Regions from separate parts of the Homo sapiens genome. Here regions 1 and 2 are each linked to region 3. The links are contacts of gene promoters, found by promoter capture Hi-C in blood cells and fetal thymus (Javierre and others, 2016). All regions are on one chromosome and are shown on one strand. The core of a region is centred on a gene start or on the middle of the fragment in contact, and the rest is flanking DNA. Distances in the headings are between cores, read along the strand shown. Region 1 holds the start of CTH (cystathionine gamma-lyase). Region 2 overlaps ANKRD13C (ankyrin repeat domain 13C). Region 3 holds the start of MSH4 (mutS homolog 4).

Region 1 (2,700 bases), core at 1-2,500, 5.4 Mb after region 3:
AGCGATTCTCCTGCCTCAGCTTCCCGAGTAGCTGAGATTACCCGCCACCATGCCCAGCTAATTTATTTATTTTTAGTAGAGATGGGGTTTCACCATGTTGGCCAGGCTGGGCTCGAACTCCTGTCCTCAGGTGATCCACCCGCCTCAGCCTCCCAAAGTGCTGGGATTACAGGCGTAAGCCACTGCACCCGGTCATGAGTTGTGTTCTTAATCACTAAGCCACAGTGCTTAAATGACGCAATAGGCTAAATTGTTACTAGCATTATTAGAGATAGCATAGTGTAGCTGAGTGCCTAGGAGTTGGTTCCTAAAGCAACCTCAAGTTTCTAAAGTTTGAATTCCATCTCCAATACTTACTAGTCTAAGGCTAGTTACTTAACTCCCTAAATCTCAGCTTCTTTATTGGGAAAAAATGAGAATTCGGTTCAGACTAGGGTTGTTGTTAGGATTAGATGAGACAATACATGTAATACACATGATATATACGAGCACGTATTTGGCATATAGTAGGTACTCAATAACTATTCATACAGCTACTGGAAACAATCTTAATTCTAGTCAAGTTATCAGACCCTTAATATTTTTTAAGCTGACTCCGTACTACATCTTTAAAATTTATGCTGCTAAAGGTAACTCAAAAAAGTTATGACCTTCGATTTTTAATTGCAAATTTGTCAAAATCACCTGAATTTCAGGCCAAATCTAAATGGCAAGCTGGACAAACGGCTCCTTCCAGTCCTGCTTATCAAAAGAAATACGATCACTGGACCATCCGATACAAAGCTGTGCTGCAAGAATTACAGTGTAGAAACATCTTTCGGTTGCCTTCCTAATTTATAAGTCATATTATAAATTACTTACATGCCTTTCAAATTCATAAGCCGTATCTCTTTTACCGCCCAACTGTGGACAGCCCCAGACAGACCCAGCTCACCGAGTGCTGGCCAGGCGCCCCTTGCTTGAACGTGGTGGACAGTGAGATGGGGGGCACTACAGCCCTGGAGGTCCATTGCTCTGGATCCTGGCCCACATGGATCGCCTGCGTGGCGAAATGTTGGAAGTGTGGCAGGAAACCTTGTGAGGAGGCGTCTTTTTCCTGCATGCTGAACCGCGAAAGAAGAAGAGAGGAAAAGAACACCGAAGATATAACCAGTCGAAGCCGGGTGTCCGGGGTTGGGAGAGACAGAAGGATCAGGCGAGAAGGAGCTAAAGCACGCAGGTAGAGCCGACGGCGAGCGCACTAAAGCGGCACACAGCGATTGTTGGGGTGGATTTTATTAGCGGGTCTGCAGTCTCACGATCACAGTGGGGCGGGACCAGCGCGGCCCATTGAGCGCAGGCCCGACGCGTCTCCCGCTCCTTATTGGCTGACAGCAGAGGCGTTGCCTGAAACGTCACCGCGACCGCCCCACCCAGTGCACAAAGCGGAGTGAAGCTGGAGTCCCTGGGTCCAAGTGGTGTTAGTCCCTGCGGGCGAAATTCCTGAGTACCCGTCCTGAGGAGGCTGCCATGCTGGCTCCTGAGAGCCACCCGGGCGTCTCTGTGACCTCAGGCCGGAGGTTCGCCCGAGACGTGGCGGAAAGCTGGCTTAGTGTTGAAACCGGGTAACTGTAAACAGACCACATAAATAGCCTTCTTTTACTGTGGTAGTTACCTCTGACCACCATCCTTTGCCCTGAGGGCGGTGCTAAAAGACGTAAGCCACAACGTGGAGGGTGGTTAAGAAAACAGTTGCCCAAGCCGCCCAGTTTGCAGCTTGGATTCTCATCAGTCACAGCTTGCGTTTTAGGTACACTGAACTCTGTAATGACCCAGTGCTTACGATGACGAAACGATGACTAGAAGTGAAGGTTAAATTGTTCGTAAGACATAACGAAGCTACTGTAGTGAGGACGTCTATGCACAACTCTGGCAGCTTCCTAAAAGTTAGTCAATCTTGAGCTTTTTCAAGCATCATTATCTTCTTTTAAAGTACAGAGAGAAACTCCCCCTAATGAGAAAGATAATGTGGCTTTGAAATACTTACTGGAGCCTAACATCCTTACACAAAATGCTTTTGCTTTTACACAACAGCAACATCCCTGCAGGAAAAAGGATTGTTTACCACTCACCTGCGCCCAGAGCCCTACTCTCAGAAGAATCACTGCTTTAAAACAAAAATCTCCCTGTTCCCTAAGCAATACAGACTTGACCTACTTACTATTGTGGCTGTTTTCTAGCACCAGGAAATTTGGGGATATTTCTGTTGTTGCAAAATATTCGCTAAAGATCTAAAACTTTATTAAACAAATTAAGAACAAGGAGAATAAGGAATAAACAGCTCTTAAAATTTACAGTTTGAAAGAAAGATATGAAGAGAAAGAATGAGGCAATTTGCTTTTCAAATTAGCTTTAGGGACATTTAACCCATTAAGCACTAGAGGAGTGGTGCTTGAGGGCCTACAAGCTTTTAGAATCCTACCAAACTTTGTATGGCTGGGGGAAAAAATGGATAGACTTCAAAACACTAATGTATATTAATACATATTTAATTAATATTTTTCTTTTAAAAATATAACATCAACTGCAACTCACCTCAATATTTATGTATAACTATAGGTGGGTATTTTTGTGTAATATGATATGGCATTTAGGGGCCAAAAGGGTCTAAAACAGTTCCAATTAGTTTTACCTCCTAATATTTGCTGACAAACCCTGAGT
Region 2 (2,700 bases), core at 134-2,633, 5.5 Mb after region 3:
TAAATTATAATGAACAGGAAGGTTTGTCAGATTCATACTTGAATCTTTAAATGATTATCTAAGTCATTGATTCTCAGACTTTTTGGATTTCACAGACCAGAAAAATTTTTTTTACTGGTGATTGATATAGGGAATCTAACTTTTTCATCTTAGACTATCAGAACTTTATAAAAACGATAACTACTGTCTTTTGTGATCCACATTTTATTTTTAAAAAAAAGATATTTGAAACCAAAAGTAGGAAGAATAGTCTTTAAAAAAATTTATTAAGAAAAAACTCATTCTAGTACACATTTTTTCTCATTTTCTGTATATCATTGGAAACTCAAACAATTGGGCACAGAAATGTAGGTTCGTATTTGGGAATTATTGATTTAGGTCACCGAGCTAGTAAATGGTAGAACTGAAACTAGGTCCTGCATTCCGATTTCTGTGTCTCAGTTTTGATTATTTTGAGACACCTTCAGTAATTTAAGCATTGTTCTTTGATTTTTGGCTTTTTAAAATATATTGGAATTTAGTTAGACCTGTGGTTAAAAATAAGAATAGCTCCTACTATTTTTACATGCTTCCCTAGATTTTTCCTAATTTTGGACCTATGTGGACAAAAAAAAAAAATCTAGTCCAAGCTTTCACTACCTTCTTTTTTTATTCGCCTTCTGCTTCTGCGTTCCACATGGGACTTGAAGTGGTTTATAAGAATGCATGCTGTGAAATAGTAAAAATAATTTACTGATTTTTAAAAAGCCCTCAGAACGCATATGTATATGTATGTATATGAAAAATGTGTTAGAATCAGGAGGAAACTAGCGTGTATATATGTATATATTTTCCCCGATGCACATTTTTCCATGTTCTTATTTTTTCCTATGCTTATTTCATTCAAGTCTAATATTTTTTCTTATTTTGGTAAATATTAAGGATTAATTGATTGATTTTGCCAGTGAATTTTAGACCTTCATTCTAATAGATAAAAATTGTATTTAGTTAATTACAGGCACAGTGTCTTGCTCTGTCACCCAGGCTGGAGTGCAGTGGTCATAGCTCACTGCAGCCTCAAACTCTTGGGCACAACCAGTCCTCCTGTCTCAGCCTCCCAAGTAGCTAGGACCACAGGTACACACCATCAAGCCCTGGCTAATTTTTTTTTTTTTTTTTAATAGAGATGGGGTCTTACTATGTTTCCCAGGCTGGTCTCGAACTCCTGAGCTCAAGTGATCCTCTCACCTTAACCTCCTGAGTAGCTGGGACTACAGGTGCAGACCACTGTGCCCTTACTTCTATTCTTACTTGACAAAGGAGAGGAAAAAAAAAGGAAGTTTAGAGAAATTAAGTAGTAACTTGTCCAAGTTTACCCACAACCACTAAGTGGTAAAGCTGGGGTTTGAACTTCAGCAATGTGCTTAAATCTCAGTAACTGAAAATACACTATGGAGGACCTTTAGGTTTTCTTAGATTCAGAAGTTCTTTTTCCATGTACAATAAGATTCATTTTTGTATTTTTTATACTGTGCTGGTAGTATGTGAAGGTATATCCTCCAGTGGTAAAAGAACAGATAACACCTGGTAACAATTGCAGGTAATTATATGTTTTTAGAAAAGTGGCTTCCAGTGGGATTTTTGAGATCTGTTGTTTTTGAGATCTTCCTTGAGGTCAGTGTTCTATTAGGACATTGCATCATTTGAATGAGTTTGGTTATCTTGGCACAGTTAGGTAAATCGTTACTGATAATTAAAAAACTAGTAAAAGCTAGTGTGAATATGGTATAGGTTGATGTTGAAATATCTCTTCTCATTATTCTTTGGGGATCATACCAGTTTTATTAAACTTACTTACTAACTTATTCTATCTATATAGGTCCCATGTTCTCTGACTTCTATGTCTCAGCTTCTTTTACTGTTCCAAGAGGCCTTCAGTAATTTAAACATTGCTCTTTGATTTTTGGCCTTTCAAAATATATTGTAGATGTAGATACACACATACACATACACACATACATGCACGTGCATATATGTGTACATGTATTATCTATCTATATGTATAATAAGCCAGTGGTGTTTTTACTGCATGATGAAAATTTAAATTAGTTATTTTTAAAATTTAAACTTTAGTTACAGCTCTTTTGAGGAAGCTTAAGCAGCAATCCAGGGAAAGTGTTGAAGAAAAACGACCTCGATTATTAAAAGCCCTGAAAGAGGTAAGCTATATTTCTTTGTTAATTTTGCACCTTGGAAGTAATTATAAGTGTAGTTTTAAGCATTTTTTTCTTAATACAACTTAAATTCTCACTTATTAGGGGCCAAAAAATGGTAAAAATCATGCTTAAATTAAGCAATAATTAGTGTATGAATGTGATCTTAGTAGAAGCACCTCAGTTTGAACTAGGAAGATAAAGATTTATTACTTTCAATAAATTAGATAAGAGCTCTAAAGAAAAAAAAAGGAGGTAAGTCACAGTTAATGGCAATAATTTTCCTTTGCCTTTGAATTAGAAGATTCTCTATAGCTAAAGCCATTGCTACTAGAAGTGGCAGTTTTTTTTGTTTGTTTGTTTTGGAGACAGCGCCTCACTCTGTCGCCCAGCTAATTTTTTGTATTTTTAGTAGAGATGGGGTTTCACCATATTACCCAGGCTGGTATCAAACTCCTGAGCTCAAGCAATCCGCCTGCCTCAGCCTCCTAGAGTGCTGGGATTATAG
Region 3 (2,700 bases), core at 11-2,510:
AATAAAGAAATTAAGAACATTAAATACAGCAGAAAGGTCACATGAGATGAACTGAAAAATGACCATTGGATTTGGTATTTGTTACTTTACCATTGTGTTGCAATCGTGTGTGAAAAATGGTGATGCTTTGTCATGAATAGAGACTAACAAAATAATAAATGATTTGAAGGACATGCATCTTTTTTGTTTGTTTGTTTTGAGTCAGGGTCTCACTGTGTCACCCAGGCTGAAATGCAGTGGCGCAATCTCAGCTCACGGCAGCCTCGACCTCCCGGACTCGCCATCCTCCCACCTCAACCTCCTGAGTAGCTGGGACCACAGTCACGTGCCACCACACCCAGATAATTTTTGTACTTTTAGTAGAGATAGGGGATGGGGGTGGGAGGTTCACCATGTTGGCCAGGCTGGTGTGGAACTCCCGGCCTCAAGTGATCCGCCCACCCTGGTTTCCCAAAGTGCTGGGATTACAGGCGTCAGCCACCGCCCAGCCCACTCTTTTAATACTAAACATATTATTTTCCCTGAATTAGATGAAATGTTCAATTTAATCTATTTTATCCCACCTTAGCAGGATTTGGAGAATTAAATTCAGCAGCCAAAGATCAGCTCACAACTTCTATCAGCAAACTCACGCACAAACTGTCATTTGTCAGACACTGTGAGGGACGTTATATGGGATACTTCAGCCTTTCTCAGAACTGAGCCATCCACAGTCAAGGTCTTGCAATAGAACCAATTTGAAAAGTCAAGGCTTCTAATCACCCAGACTCACCAAATTCCCAGGGCACTCAGATCTCACGCCCCAACCAAATCACAACTTCACTGTGGTAACCACCACCCACGTGCCCCCGAGCCTCCATGAACTGCCGGCCTCTAGCCTCAAGGAGACTCCTCCACCCAATCACTCCTTGCCTTGAGCTGGCCGGGAGTTTGGCGCGGGGCAGGGAAGGCTGCTGCTGCTGCTGCTCCGGTCGCCCGCAGCTCCTGACGTGCCAGGACAGGTGGATGCAGAGACCACCTGGACCGAAGGGCGGCTCTGTGGAGTCTCCTGGAGTCCGAAATTGTAGCGGGGACCCTGAGGTGAGCGGGTTTCTCCCGACGACGGGGAAACCGCCGGGGCAGAAGGCGAGGTTGATGAGATCTCAGGCCTCAGCATCCTCCCAAACCTTCCCTGACCCGAGAAGTATGAGGTTTCTGAGCGACCCCTCCAGTAGCCCAACTACAGAAGCTGCGCCGCTGAAACGGGCGGGAGAACTGCGCGCCGACGCACTAAGCTGCACTGCGCAGGCGCAGGCAGGCTCAGCTTTCCACATGGATTCACGTACTTCAGGTCTATGACCCTGCTTCCAGCCATTCCCAAACCCATCACTTTCCACATGAACCTCACTGGAACATCCTCAGCCTGCAGGTATCAGACTGACCAGAACTCTGCAAGGCCCATCAATGACCACCCGATTTGTTAGCCCCATTATTCTCACAGCACCCAATCTCCCTTATTGCAAATGTTACATGCATTTCCCACACGTCCAAGCACACTAGCTTATCTTTAAATGTAGAAACCACCCAACACAGTACACCCAGTGCCTTTGACACAATGAGAACGTGTAATGCTCACACAGCATAACCCACCTAAGGTTGATCTTGTGACCAAATATAGGAAAGATAGTTATATTATCAAAAGATAGTATGCACATGGCTGTGTGCATAGTAGAGTAGGAAACAGGGAAAGACTGACTGGGTAAGATCTCTCAGTTAACAATTCCCCATCTACCAATTTCTAGTACTGTGGTTTCTAACATATAAATCAGTTAATGGCACACTAGAAGTTCAAACTCCAGCTTTGCAGTGGTGACCTTTAGAAAATTCCTTAAATAAGGCCAATAGTACCAACTTACCAGAGATCCATGGATTAAACATGACGAAATTATCTGGATACTGCCATACAGAAGCTATTAGAAGACATTAATTTACACCACTACTGAAATCCTGCCACTGTTGAGTATCTCAATAAACCAGTTATGCACAGCGGTTTACCCACATGCAGTGACAACAGTCCTTAAGAACATCTCTGTTCTTGGAATGATTATTGCACAGGGCATTCCAAACATACTTGAGAAAAATCTCAATTTCCATCAAAAAACCTTATTTTCAGATCGGGCACGATGGCTCCTCCCTGTAATCCCAGTACTTTGGGAGACTGAGGCCAGAGGATTACTTCACCTCCGGAGACCAGCCTGGGGAAGACAGTGCCTGTCCCCAAAATTAAGAAATCAGCTGGGCATAGTGGGCATGGTGGCAGGTACCTGTAGACCCTGGTACTCAGGAGGCTGAGGTGGAAGGACTGCTTGAGCCCAGGAGTTTAAGGTTACAGTGAGCTGTGATTGCACTACTATGCCCCAGCCTGGGGAAGAAAGGAAGACCCTGTCTCTAAAAAATAAAATTTAAAAATAGAGAATACCTCACTTTCACCAAAACTGTAAACCCCTAGAGTGATTGTACTCATTTTAGGCCAGGCGTGGTGGCTCACGCCTGTAATCCCAGCACTTTGGGAGGCCGAGGTGGGTGGATCACAAGGTCAGGCTGGTCTCCAGCTCCTCAGCATGGTGAAACCCTGTCTGTACTAAAGTAACATAAAAATTAGCCGGGCATGGTGGTGTGCGGCTGTAGTCCCAGCTACTCGAGAGGCTGCGGCTGAATTGC

What was found. Contacts are between HindIII fragments. The CHiCAGO score rates a contact against its expected background, and 5 or more counts as called.
Region 1: a contact is called between the fragment with the promoter of CTH here and the fragment with the promoter of MSH4 in region 3, in 1 of 17 cell types (total CD4 T cells). The highest score is 6.8, in total CD4 T cells.
Region 2: a fragment that was not itself captured here is called in contact with the fragment with the promoter of MSH4 in region 3 in 1 of 17 cell types (total CD8 T cells); the score reaches 6.1 in total CD8 T cells.

The regions. Positions count from the first base shown.
Region 1 is chr1:70,409,818-70,412,517 of GRCh38, reverse strand. CTH (cystathionine gamma-lyase) reads right to left here and starts at 1,250. Exons shown (of 12, transcript NM_001902.6): 1 at 935-1,250. The coding sequence starts at 1,102. RefSeq lists a silencer at 1,210-1,359 and an enhancer at 1,420-1,679. The HindIII fragment of the contact is 3,560 bases long and covers 1-2,448 here.
Region 2 is chr1:70,314,979-70,317,678 of GRCh38, reverse strand. It overlaps ANKRD13C (ankyrin repeat domain 13C), which reads left to right. Exons shown (of 13, transcript NM_030816.5): 4 at 2,113-2,198. Among named protein-coding and RNA genes, the nearest start is that of ANKRD13C, 38 kb to the left of the region's middle. The HindIII fragment of the contact is 1,503 bases long and covers 632-2,134 here.
Region 3 is chr1:75,795,442-75,798,141 of GRCh38, reverse strand. It overlaps MSH4 (mutS homolog 4), which reads right to left and starts at 1,260. Exons shown (of 20, transcript NM_002440.4): 1 at 913-1,260. The coding sequence starts at 1,156. The HindIII fragment of the contact is 6,934 bases long and covers 1-2,700 here.